Regions from separate parts of the Homo sapiens genome. Here regions 1 and 3 are each linked to region 2. Evidence: promoter capture Hi-C in human tissues and cell types (Jung and others, 2019). All regions are on one chromosome and are shown on one strand. The core of a region is centred on a gene start or on the middle of the fragment in contact, and the rest is flanking DNA. Distances in the headings are between cores, read along the strand shown.

Evidence for each region. Contacts are between HindIII fragments. The study calls those that stand out against the background at their distance.
Region 1: a fragment that was not itself captured here is called in contact with the fragment with the promoter of ADAMTS7 in region 2 in 1 of the 25 tissues and cell types used here (IMR-90 fibroblasts).
Region 3: a contact is called between a fragment that was not itself captured here and the fragment with the promoter of ADAMTS7 in region 2, in 4 of the 25 tissues and cell types used here (liver, mesendoderm cells, spleen and 1 more).

What each region holds. Positions count from the first base shown.
Region 1 is chr15:78,577,836-78,581,184 of GRCh38, forward strand. CHRNA5 (cholinergic receptor nicotinic alpha 5 subunit) reads left to right here. Exons shown (of 6, transcript NM_000745.4): 2 at 2,976-3,127. Among named protein-coding and RNA genes, the nearest start is that of CHRNA5, 14 kb to the left of the region's middle. The HindIII fragment of the contact is 3,216 bases long and covers 136-3,349 here.
Region 2 is chr15:78,809,522-78,812,713 of GRCh38, forward strand. It overlaps ADAMTS7 (ADAM metallopeptidase with thrombospondin type 1 motif 7), which reads right to left and starts at 1,943. Exons shown (of 24, transcript NM_014272.5): 1 at 1,600-1,943. The coding sequence starts at 1,699. RefSeq lists a silencer at 1,971-2,390. The HindIII fragment of the contact is 14,119 bases long and covers 1-3,192 here.
Region 3 is chr15:78,662,948-78,666,219 of GRCh38, forward strand. No RefSeq gene overlaps it. Among named protein-coding and RNA genes, the nearest start is that of CHRNB4, 23 kb to the left of the region's middle. The HindIII fragment of the contact is 6,536 bases long and covers 1-3,272 here.

The DNA of each region.
Region 1 (3,349 bases), core at 494-2,993, 230 kb before region 2:
TGGGAGGATCGCTTGAGTCCAGGAGGTTGAGGCTGCAGTGAGCCAAGATTGCACCATTGCACTCCAGACTGAGTGACAGAGACCCTGTCTCAAAAAAAAAAAAAAAGACATTTTATTTATTAATACTTTTATCTTTTAACCCTTAAATTTTTGGTATTTCAGGGACTATAGGAGGATTAGAAGAGGAGAAATGGTTCAATAATGCTATTTTAACTTGAAGCTCTAAAATTAATGGCTTTTAAACATTAAGAATGACTCTAGTGTATAATTTTCTAAATTAATCTAAATATCTTCAATGCTGTGCATTTCAGCATAAGGTGACTTTTACAGGCGTCACCACACAAACTCCATAGTATTTGTAGATTAAACTAAGTATCTTAAACTAGTTACTGCCTGGCGCAGTGGCTCACGCCTGTAATCCCAGCACTTTGGGAGGCCGAGGCGGGTGGATCACCTAAGGTCAGGAGTTCAAGACCAGCCTGACCAGTAGGGTGAAACCCCATCTCTACTAAAAATACAAAAATTAGCCAGGCGTGGTGGCGTGTGCCTGTGGTCCCTGCTGTTCGGGAGGCTGAGACAGAGAATCACTTGAACCTGGGAGGTGGAGGTTGCAGTGAGCCGAGATCACACCACTGCACTCCAGCCTGGGTGACAGAGTGAGACTCCGTCTCAAGATAAATAAATAAAAAATAAATAATTTTTTAAAATTAAACTAGTTATTCAGGGAAGCAGGACACAAACTCTTGAGGAGTAGGTTATTTATGAAAAAGAGAACCAGGAAATAGGTTTCCTCCAGCTAGAGTACCTGGATATTCTTTCATATCTCTGTATGGAAAACATGGTCTATCATCATAAAGAGAAGATTTTGTGAAAGTGCTAATTTCTCTCCAACCATTTCTTTTAGGTTGGAGAAGAACAATCACTTGCTACTGTAATCCTTATGTGTATATTTGCTGATTAATAAGCCAGTGACATTTTTGTTTCAAGTAAAAGTGGTTTTTTCGTAATATCATTAGTCTTAAGTAAAAGTCATGCTTGAATTTTTATACATTTCACATTTCCTTAAGTGATCCCAGGCCAGACAACAGTGAAAACTCATTTCTTCAGAGATGCTTATTTGAGCTCTGTAGTAGCATAAGCATAACTGTGATCCCCAAATCTAACCAGTCTTTGGCCATAGTATCCAAAACATTTTATATTTTGACTTTTTTTTTTTTTTTAACAACTTAGGTCCTTAAATAGATTTTTTTGAAGAAACAAGTTTCTTTTTAGTATATTTAATGGCACATGTTTCCTGATTTTTGAACGGGAATTCCTCATCTTCATTTTACATTGGGCCCTGTGAATTATTTAGCCAACCATGTTCACATTCTCACATATACATACATTTATTTATTTATTATTTGTTTGTTTGTTTGTTTGTTTGTTTGTTTTTTGAGACAGAGTCTCGCTCTGTTGGCCACGCTGGAGTGCAGTGGCACAATCTCGGCTCACTGCAACCTCTGTCTCCCGGGCTCAAGCAGTTCTCCTGCCTCAGCCTCCCAAGTAGCTGGGATTACAGGCGTGTGCCACCATGCCTGACTAATTTTTGTATTTTTTGTAGAGACAGGGTTTCACCATGTTGGCCAGGTTCGTCTCGAACTCCTTACCTCAGGTAATCTGTCCGCCTCAGCTTCCCAAAGTGCTGGGATTACAGACGTGAGCCACCGCCTATTTATTTTTTTTACTGATCTTGAAATAAACCTTTCTTGATTCTTTATCCTCAGTATCCCTATATCAGCATAACTTTTGGAAAGAGATCATTCCTGTCTTTGCACTCTGTCTTAAACATACTGCAGTTCATCTCTCTTCTCTTCCCATAGATGGCTTTTGTTAGATTCACCATTGACCTCACTGTTGCTAATCCAACACTCAGTTCTCAGCTGCCTCTCCATGTCTCATGAGTAGCATCAGTAGATTGGGAGGCTCAACCCTTCTTGCTGCATTTTCTTCATTTAGCTTCCAGGACAGCATGCTATCTGCTATCTTCGAGTTCTTCCTTCCTTATTCCCTAAAAAGCAGTTTTATACAAATGTATAGTTTTATACAAATATAGTAGCAAAGTATGTCAAAGCTAAATCAATCATTCAATATTTATATATTTTCATATTAAGATTATGACAGGCCAGGCACAGTGGCTCACAGCTGTGATCCCAGCACTATGGGAGGCTGAGGCGGGCAGATTGCTGAAGGTCAGAAGTTCAAGACCAGTCTGGCCAACATGGTGGAACCCCGTCTCTACTAAAAATACAAAAATTAGCCAGGCGTGGTGGTGGATACCTGTAGTCTCAGCTACTCGGGAGGCTGAGGTGGAGAATTGCTTGAATCCCAGTGGCAGAGGTTGCAATGAGCCGAGATTGCACCACTGCACTTCCAGCCTGGGAGACCAGGCAGGACTCCGTCTCAAAAAAAAAAAAAAAAAAAAAAAGATTATGCAAATTAAAGCAATTTTAACATTTATAATTGATAAATGAGCTTTGCTTTAGTATATCTGTTTTCTAGGTTTGGAATTTCAAGATAACTCCTGCCACCCTGGCAATTTAAAAGCTTTTATTATTTAGATTTGAAACTATTCTGTATTGAGTACTGAGTGTTTCTTAAGGAGCTCAGCATATTCCAATAGTCAGTCTGATTTAACTGAGACGTATCTGAACCAGAGTGTCCCTTATTCTATCAGAAATACTTACATTAATATTTCATTTTAAAAGCTGCATTAATAATAGCCTAAATTGTAGTTTGGTTCATTAATAATCTGAACTTTTTTTTTCCTTTTTTTTTTTGAGACAGAGTCTCTCTCCATGGCCCAGGTTGGAGTGCAGTGGCCCGATCTTGGCTCACTGCAACCTTTGCCTCCTGGGTTTGAACTTTTGTTTGAAAGTACAGGTATCTGGTGGGAGAGAAGCGAGTACATTAACTTTTAAAAATTTGTTATACAGGATTATCTGAACCTTCTTCTATTGCAAAACATGAAGATAGTTTGCTTAAGGATTTATTTCAAGACTACGAAAGATGGGTTCGTCCTGTGGAACACCTGAATGACAAAATAAAAATAAAATTTGGACTTGCAATATCTCAATTGGTGGATGTGGTAGGTGTGCATATCCTTCTATAGTCAATTTCCCACAGATTTAGTGAGAGCCTGGTGTGTGCCCAGGCACTGTGCTAGGCACCAAGGATTACAAAGGTGATTGAAGCAGTCCTTTGCCTGAAGGAACTCACCAGGGAAAAGTAGTGATTGTGTCACATACATGATAACACACTGTGTTTATATATTTTATAGTTTAGAAACTGTTTATCTCAATTTGGTAAT
Region 2 (3,192 bases), core at 693-3,192:
TCGGCCTGGCAGATTAATAAAAATAATGACCACTACATTGTAGTCACTGTGTCCTGCCTGAGCAACTGACATATTCAATATCTCATTTAATCCTCATAAGAATCCCACGAGGTTGACCGCACCCAACTCTTCCCACAGCTGCCAGGGGGCCAGGACCCAAGTCCTGAGGGAAGCATTTTCCTGCTCTCCCATTCCCATCGCCCGGTTCATCCTCCTCAGCCCCCAGCTCTGGACAGTGGAAAACACAAGCCTCATTCAGGAAGCTCAGGAGTCCAACCCCACAGGTCGCTCTACTCTGAGCCTGTTTGCTGGTCCATAAAAGGACTTTCCATCACTTGCTTTGCACGGTTGTTGTGGAGATGATGAGAAATAAGAACCCGTGAGGCTGGCACACAGTAGGTGCTCATTAAATGTTCGCTCCCTCTGCGCTCTGCGCATGGCTGCTAGACCAAATCTTTCCAAAACACTGCTTTCATCAGCTGCTCCCCTCAACGGCTTCCCAAACCTCTAAGATCAAGAGTCAATGTCCCCATCCTTCCCGCCCAGACTACTTTCTCGTCACAATCCCTCCAGTGGGGAGGCAGGTCGACCCCATCCCAGCAAGCAACCCTAATCCAGTCCCCCGACTGATGCTCCCCAGGGGAGGGCCCCACTCCCTCCACGCCCTTCTAGCTCATCCAGAATCCATCCATCCTTCCAGTCTCTCCAACCTCATGCCCCTCCTCTCCTACAAAGCCTGCCGGTCGGCTCTATTGCAGGACTCTCCCCACTATCCACCGGCTCCCCTGACTGGGAGCTCCCTGAGCACCGGGCCTGGGGTCTCCTACATCCTCGGTTACTGAATTCCCAGGCCGGCTGCGTCGGACGCGCCAGCAGCGCGGCCGCCCGGCAGGTCGCCGCCAAACAAGAGTCTGGACGCAGGCCAGAGGCTCGTCGGAGGCCGGCCCGGCGGGGCGGGGAGAGTTAACCCATGGCCGGGAAAAGAAGCTCCTGCTCCCCGCTCCACTCCCGGCGTCTTCACACTTGGGGAAGGGAGAGGCAGGAAGTGCAAGGACCGCGCAAGACCCGGCCCCCCGAGCCGCCAGGGGCCGCGCCAGCAGCCCAGATGCGGTGGGCGGGAGCTGGGGGGGCGGCGGGGTCCCGCGAAGACCTGCGACCTGGCGCCCTCGCCGGCTGTGTCCCGGCCAGCCCGCTTTCCAGGCGAGCCTCGCTAAGGAGTGTGAGAAACCAAATCCTCAGTGGGTAAACCGCGCTCCGTCCAGCCCACTCGGACGAGAGCTCTCCCGGGAGCCAGGCGCGTTGCTGCACCCGAGGTGGGGAAACCGGAGCCCGAAGAGCGGAAGGGGCTTATTCCAGGCGACAGGCAGTGTCAGTAACTGAATCAGGGGCCGAGGAAGTTTCCCCAGAAGCGCGGCTTCGCTCCCGGCCCGGCCCGACCCCGACTACTGTCCCCTAATACCCAGGGAGCGGAAGACGCGACCAACTCCAGGCACAGCGGAGCCGGCGCGGGGTCCACAAAGGTGAGGAGGGACAAAACCGAGACTGGGGGAGCGGGAAGGGGTGGCAGGCCCGGCTGGCCGGGGAGGGGCGGACACCCACCTGGTGCGGGTCCGGGGGCGCCGGGAGCCAGAGCGCAGAGGAGCAGGAGGAGGGGGCGCAGCAAAGGCGCGGGGCTGCGGGGACTGGGGCCGCCGGGCATGGCAGGAACCGGGCGGCCGCCGGGTGACCCCGCGCGCACGCTCTCGTCCGTCCCGTCCGGTCGCTGCCTGGTCCCAGGTCCGGCTCAGGACATGCCCGGCCGGCGTGCAGCTCCCGGCGACCCGGCCCCGACTCCGTTCGGCTGCGCTCGGTCCGCGGGCAACAAAGGCTGCAGGGCCCGCCCCCTTGGCCGCTGCAGAGGCAAAGAAAAGACAAGAGAGCTAGAAGGAGAGAAAGAAAGAAAGAAAGAAAGGGAGGGAGAGTGAGGGAGGGCGGCTGCCGGCCCCCGCCCCGCCCCTCGGACTCCTTCCCCCGCCCCTGGCCCCGCCCCGCCCCGGCCGGCCCCGGCCTCATCGGCCCCGCAGGCCGTGCTCGCCTCAAGGGCTGGCCGGCCCGGCGCAGGCAGCGCCCCGCAACGGATGTCCGCCCCCCTCGCCCCCCTGTCCCGAGCGCCCCCTGCCGGCGGAGCCCTGCCAGGCCTTTCCGACCCCGGCCGGTTGAGGACCCCCGGAAAGAATCTGGAATTTCCAGAATTAATGTGTTGTCCCTAAATTGGGCTCCACGAGGTGCCCTTCGCTGTGTTCCCCAGGCCAAGCAGGGCAGCCCCTCAAAAGGGGACGCGGGAGGCCTCCAGAGGGCCACACCGGGGGCCCTGCTTCAAAGCTATCTGCGGAGACAGGCCTGGGCCCTCCCTGGACAGACAGCGGTTGCCCGCGCGAGGTGGGGCCCCGCAGTTCCTCGTCTCCTGACTCCTCTCCTAGTGCGTTTGCTTGAAGCAGAGCGCAGAGTTGAGCCCACAGGCGGGGGACCGCGGCTTCGCCCAGGCCAGCGCCCACAGACTTTCAGCAGGGGCTCCCGGGGAGCCTGGAGGCCGGCCAACCCCAGCCTCACATCCCAGGCCAGCCTCCGCCTCCAACACCGGCCGTCTGTCCTTCGTGGCCCCAGCCCTGGCTCTGGCTTCCGGCTCCCCTTCCCCCTGTGCTCCCAGGAGCTTCCTTTCTCCCTTCTGCCGTCACTAAACATGGCCCTGTACCGAGGACGCCCGTCTTGTCCTCGGGGCGGTTGCGGTCAGCTTCCTCCCCTTGGTTAGTCTTTGTGTGCCCCCTGCCCTCTGAGGCCCGCACACCTCCTCATTGTCCAATCTCCTGGGCCCTTTCATTCAATTCCTGGAAGCTCACTTCTGGCTTCCTCTCCACCCTCAACCTGTCTGTCCTCTAGGGAATTTGTGTAGTACAGGGTCACCTACTTCCTCCATCTCATCTCCAGTGACCTTCCACTCCACCTCAGCCATCAGGTCTCAGGGCCAAAGCCTGGGCTGTGTCATCCCTCAGAACTGCTCCATCTTGGAAATCCGAAGCTCAGGTGCCCCCCTGTCAGACCCGACTCTGCAGTCCTTTCCACCTTCACAGTCCCACTATGTATTGCTCTTCCTCCAGTCCCTTGATACCTTCCTCTTCGCCCAACCTACCAGCCCCTCCTGGCTTCACCTACTTC
Region 3 (3,272 bases), core at 138-2,637, 150 kb before region 2:
GGCATGAATATGTAGTTTAAAAATAAGTAGATATGGCTGGGCGTGGTGGCTCATGCCTGTAATCCCAGCACTTTGGGGGGCTGAGGTGGGCAGACCACCTGAGGTCAGGAGTTCAAGGCCAGCCTGGCCAACATGGTGAAACCCCATCTCTACTAAAAATAGAAAACTTAGCCAGGCATGGTGGCAGGCACCTGTAGTCCCAGCTACTCAGGAGGCTGAGGCAGGACAATCTCTTGAACCTGGGAGGCGGAGGTTGCAGTGAGCCGAGATCACGCCACTGCACTCCAGCCTGGGTGACAGAGCAAGACTCTATCTCAAAAAATAAAAAAGTAGAAATGACCAGTAAATATATGAAACAACTGTAACCATGAGAACAATAAAAGAAATGTGGCCAAACGCAGTGACTCACGCCTGTAATCCCAGCACTTTGGGAGGCCGAGGTATGAGGATTGCTTGGAGCTAGCAGTCCAGCACCAGCCTGGGCGGCAAAGTGAAACCCCATACCTACAAAAAAAAAAAAAAAAATTTTTTTTTTTTTGAGACAGTTTCACTCTGTCACCCAGGCTAGAGTGCAGTGCCGCGATCATGGCTCACTGAAACCTCTGCCTCCCAGGCTCAAGCGATCCTTCTGCCTCAGCCTCCCAGGTAGCTGGGACTACAGGTGCACATCACCACAACCAGCTAATTTTTGTATTTTGTGTATTCACCATGTGGTTCGTGCTGGTCTTAAAGTTCTGGACTTAAGCTGCCTGCCTCAGCCTTTCAAAGGGTTTGGATTACAGGCATGAGCCACTGCAACAACAACAACAAAAAACTCTCAAGTTTTTTTTATTTTTTTTAATTAGCTGGGCATGGTGATGCACACCTGTAGTTCCAGCTACTCCAGAGACTGAGGCAGAAAGATTGCCTGAATCCAGGCTTCAGTGAGCTATGATTGAGACACTGCATTCCTGCCTGGGTGACCAAGCGAGACCCTGTCTTAAAAAGGGAGGAGGAAGAGGAGGAGAGGACTAAAACCACAAGACACCTCTTTTTCCTGCTGAATTGGCAGAGATAAAAAAGATATAATGACAGCTGGACAGGGAAGAGTTTGAGTAAACAGACACTTATCCACTGCTGGGGCTGTAAACTGGAACAACTGTTCTGTAGGGCCAAAGCCCTAAAAATGCCCCATCTGTTTGTACCAGAACTTTTATTTCTAGAAATAGATCCTGAAGAAATAATCAGATGTGCAAAATGAATGCATCAATATGCATCACAGTCGCACTCACACATGGAATATTGAAACTGCCTAAATGTGCACCCATGAATCCAAACAACTTTCTTCTTGCTCACCCATCAGTCACCCAAGTCCTTCAGTCAAGTTTTAAAAACCAAAGCACCTGTGATTTAGCCTAAGGAGCTTTGCCCCCTTGTGCTGCACAGGGCAGGGCCAGATTGAGCTCTTTGCAGTGGAGCAGAAAGTCCCATCCAGCACTAGAGAAGTGAGTAGCTACTGAGGATTTAACTTGTGCTTTGTTTCTTGGTGTCCAGAAGGAATAGAAAGCATTTTCTGTCTCCCTAGGGACCTGTTTTTGTCTCTAAAACCTGGCTTCTTACCACTCTTGGGCCCTCAAAGCCTGACATGGTTGGATCCACCCCTCACCTCCTCCCCTGCTCACCACCTAGGAAGCCTCTTCTTAGCTCCAGCCACGCAGGTCTTCTTTCAGCTCTTCAAACTCATCATGCCCTCTCTGGCCACACAGTCTTTGCACATGCTGTTCCCTTTGCCCAGAACTTCTCCCATTCTCTCCTGCCTGGTTACTTCTGAACTTGAACGTCCCTGTCTCAGGAGGCTATCCTTGGCCTAAGTTTTTATAGGTTCCTTTTGCGCTCTGCATTCTACCTACAATTTCACATTAATTTATGCAAGTGTTTTGTTTCTGTCTCTCTCTCCCAAGATTCTCAGCACCATGTGGCAGTTGTATGTAGCTCCAGTATCCACACGGTGCATGACACATGGCTGGGCTTCAACACGGCTAACCCATGGCTCTAGGAGATTTTCTTTTATTATTTCTTTGGTAACCCCTTGCCCTTTGTTTTCTCTGTTCTCTTTCTGGAGTGTCAACTGGTTGGTTGAACTTGAATCAGTCCTTGAAGTATTTTATTTCTCCTCTTGTATTTTTTTTTCTTTTTTATGTTTTGTCTGCATTCTAGACATTCCATCAATTTTATTTTCCAAGCCATCTAGCAAGTTTTATTTTGGTAACCATATTTTTAATTGTAAAAAGTTACTTCTTTTTTGAGATGGAGTCTCACTCTGTCGCCTAGGTTGGAGTGCAGTGGCGTGATCTCAGCTCACTGCAACCTCTGCCTCCCAGGTCCAAGCGGTTCTTGTGCCTCAGCCTCCCGTGTAGCTGGGATTACAGGCACACCACTGCATCTGGCTAATTTTTGCATTTTTGGTAGAGACGGGGTTTCACCATGTTGGCCTGGCTGGTCTCAAACTCCTGACCTCAGGTGATCTGCTCACCTCGGCCTCCCAAAGTGCTGGGAGTACAGGCATGAGCCACTGTGCCTGGCCAAAAAGTTACTTCTTTTATGTTTGCACACACATGTTCACAGCAGCATTATTCACAATAGCCAAAAGGTGGAAACAACTCAAGTGTCCATAGACAGATGAATGGATAAACAAAATTTGGTATATCCATACAATGGACTATTATTCAGCCTTAAAAAGGAAGGTAATTCTGACACATGCTACATTAGTGAACCTTGAAGACATTATGCATGTGAAGTAAGCCAGTAACAAAGGACAATTATTGTATGATTTCACTCATATGAGATACTTAGAGTAGTCAAATTCATGGAGACAGAAAGTAGAATGGTGGTTGCCAGGATCGGGGCCAGCCAGGGATGGGGAATTTTTGCTTCATGGGTACAGAGTTTCAGTTTTGCAAGATAAAAAAGTGTTCTGGAGATGGTTGTTGATGACGGTTTTAGAACAATGTGAATATCCTTAATGCCACTGATGTGGTTAGACTTTGTGTCCCCACTCAATCTCATCTTGAATTATAATCCCCAGGTGTTTAGGAAAAGACCTGGTGGGCAGTGACTGGAGTATGGGGGCAGTTTTCCCTATGGGGGCAGTTTTCCCCATGCTGTTCTCTTAATAGTGAATGACTTCTCACCCGATCTGATGGTTTTATAACTGGTAGTTTTTCCTGCACTGACGCATACTCTCTCCTGCCCTCACGTGAAGAAGGTTCTTGCTTCCCCTTCTCCTGCCATGA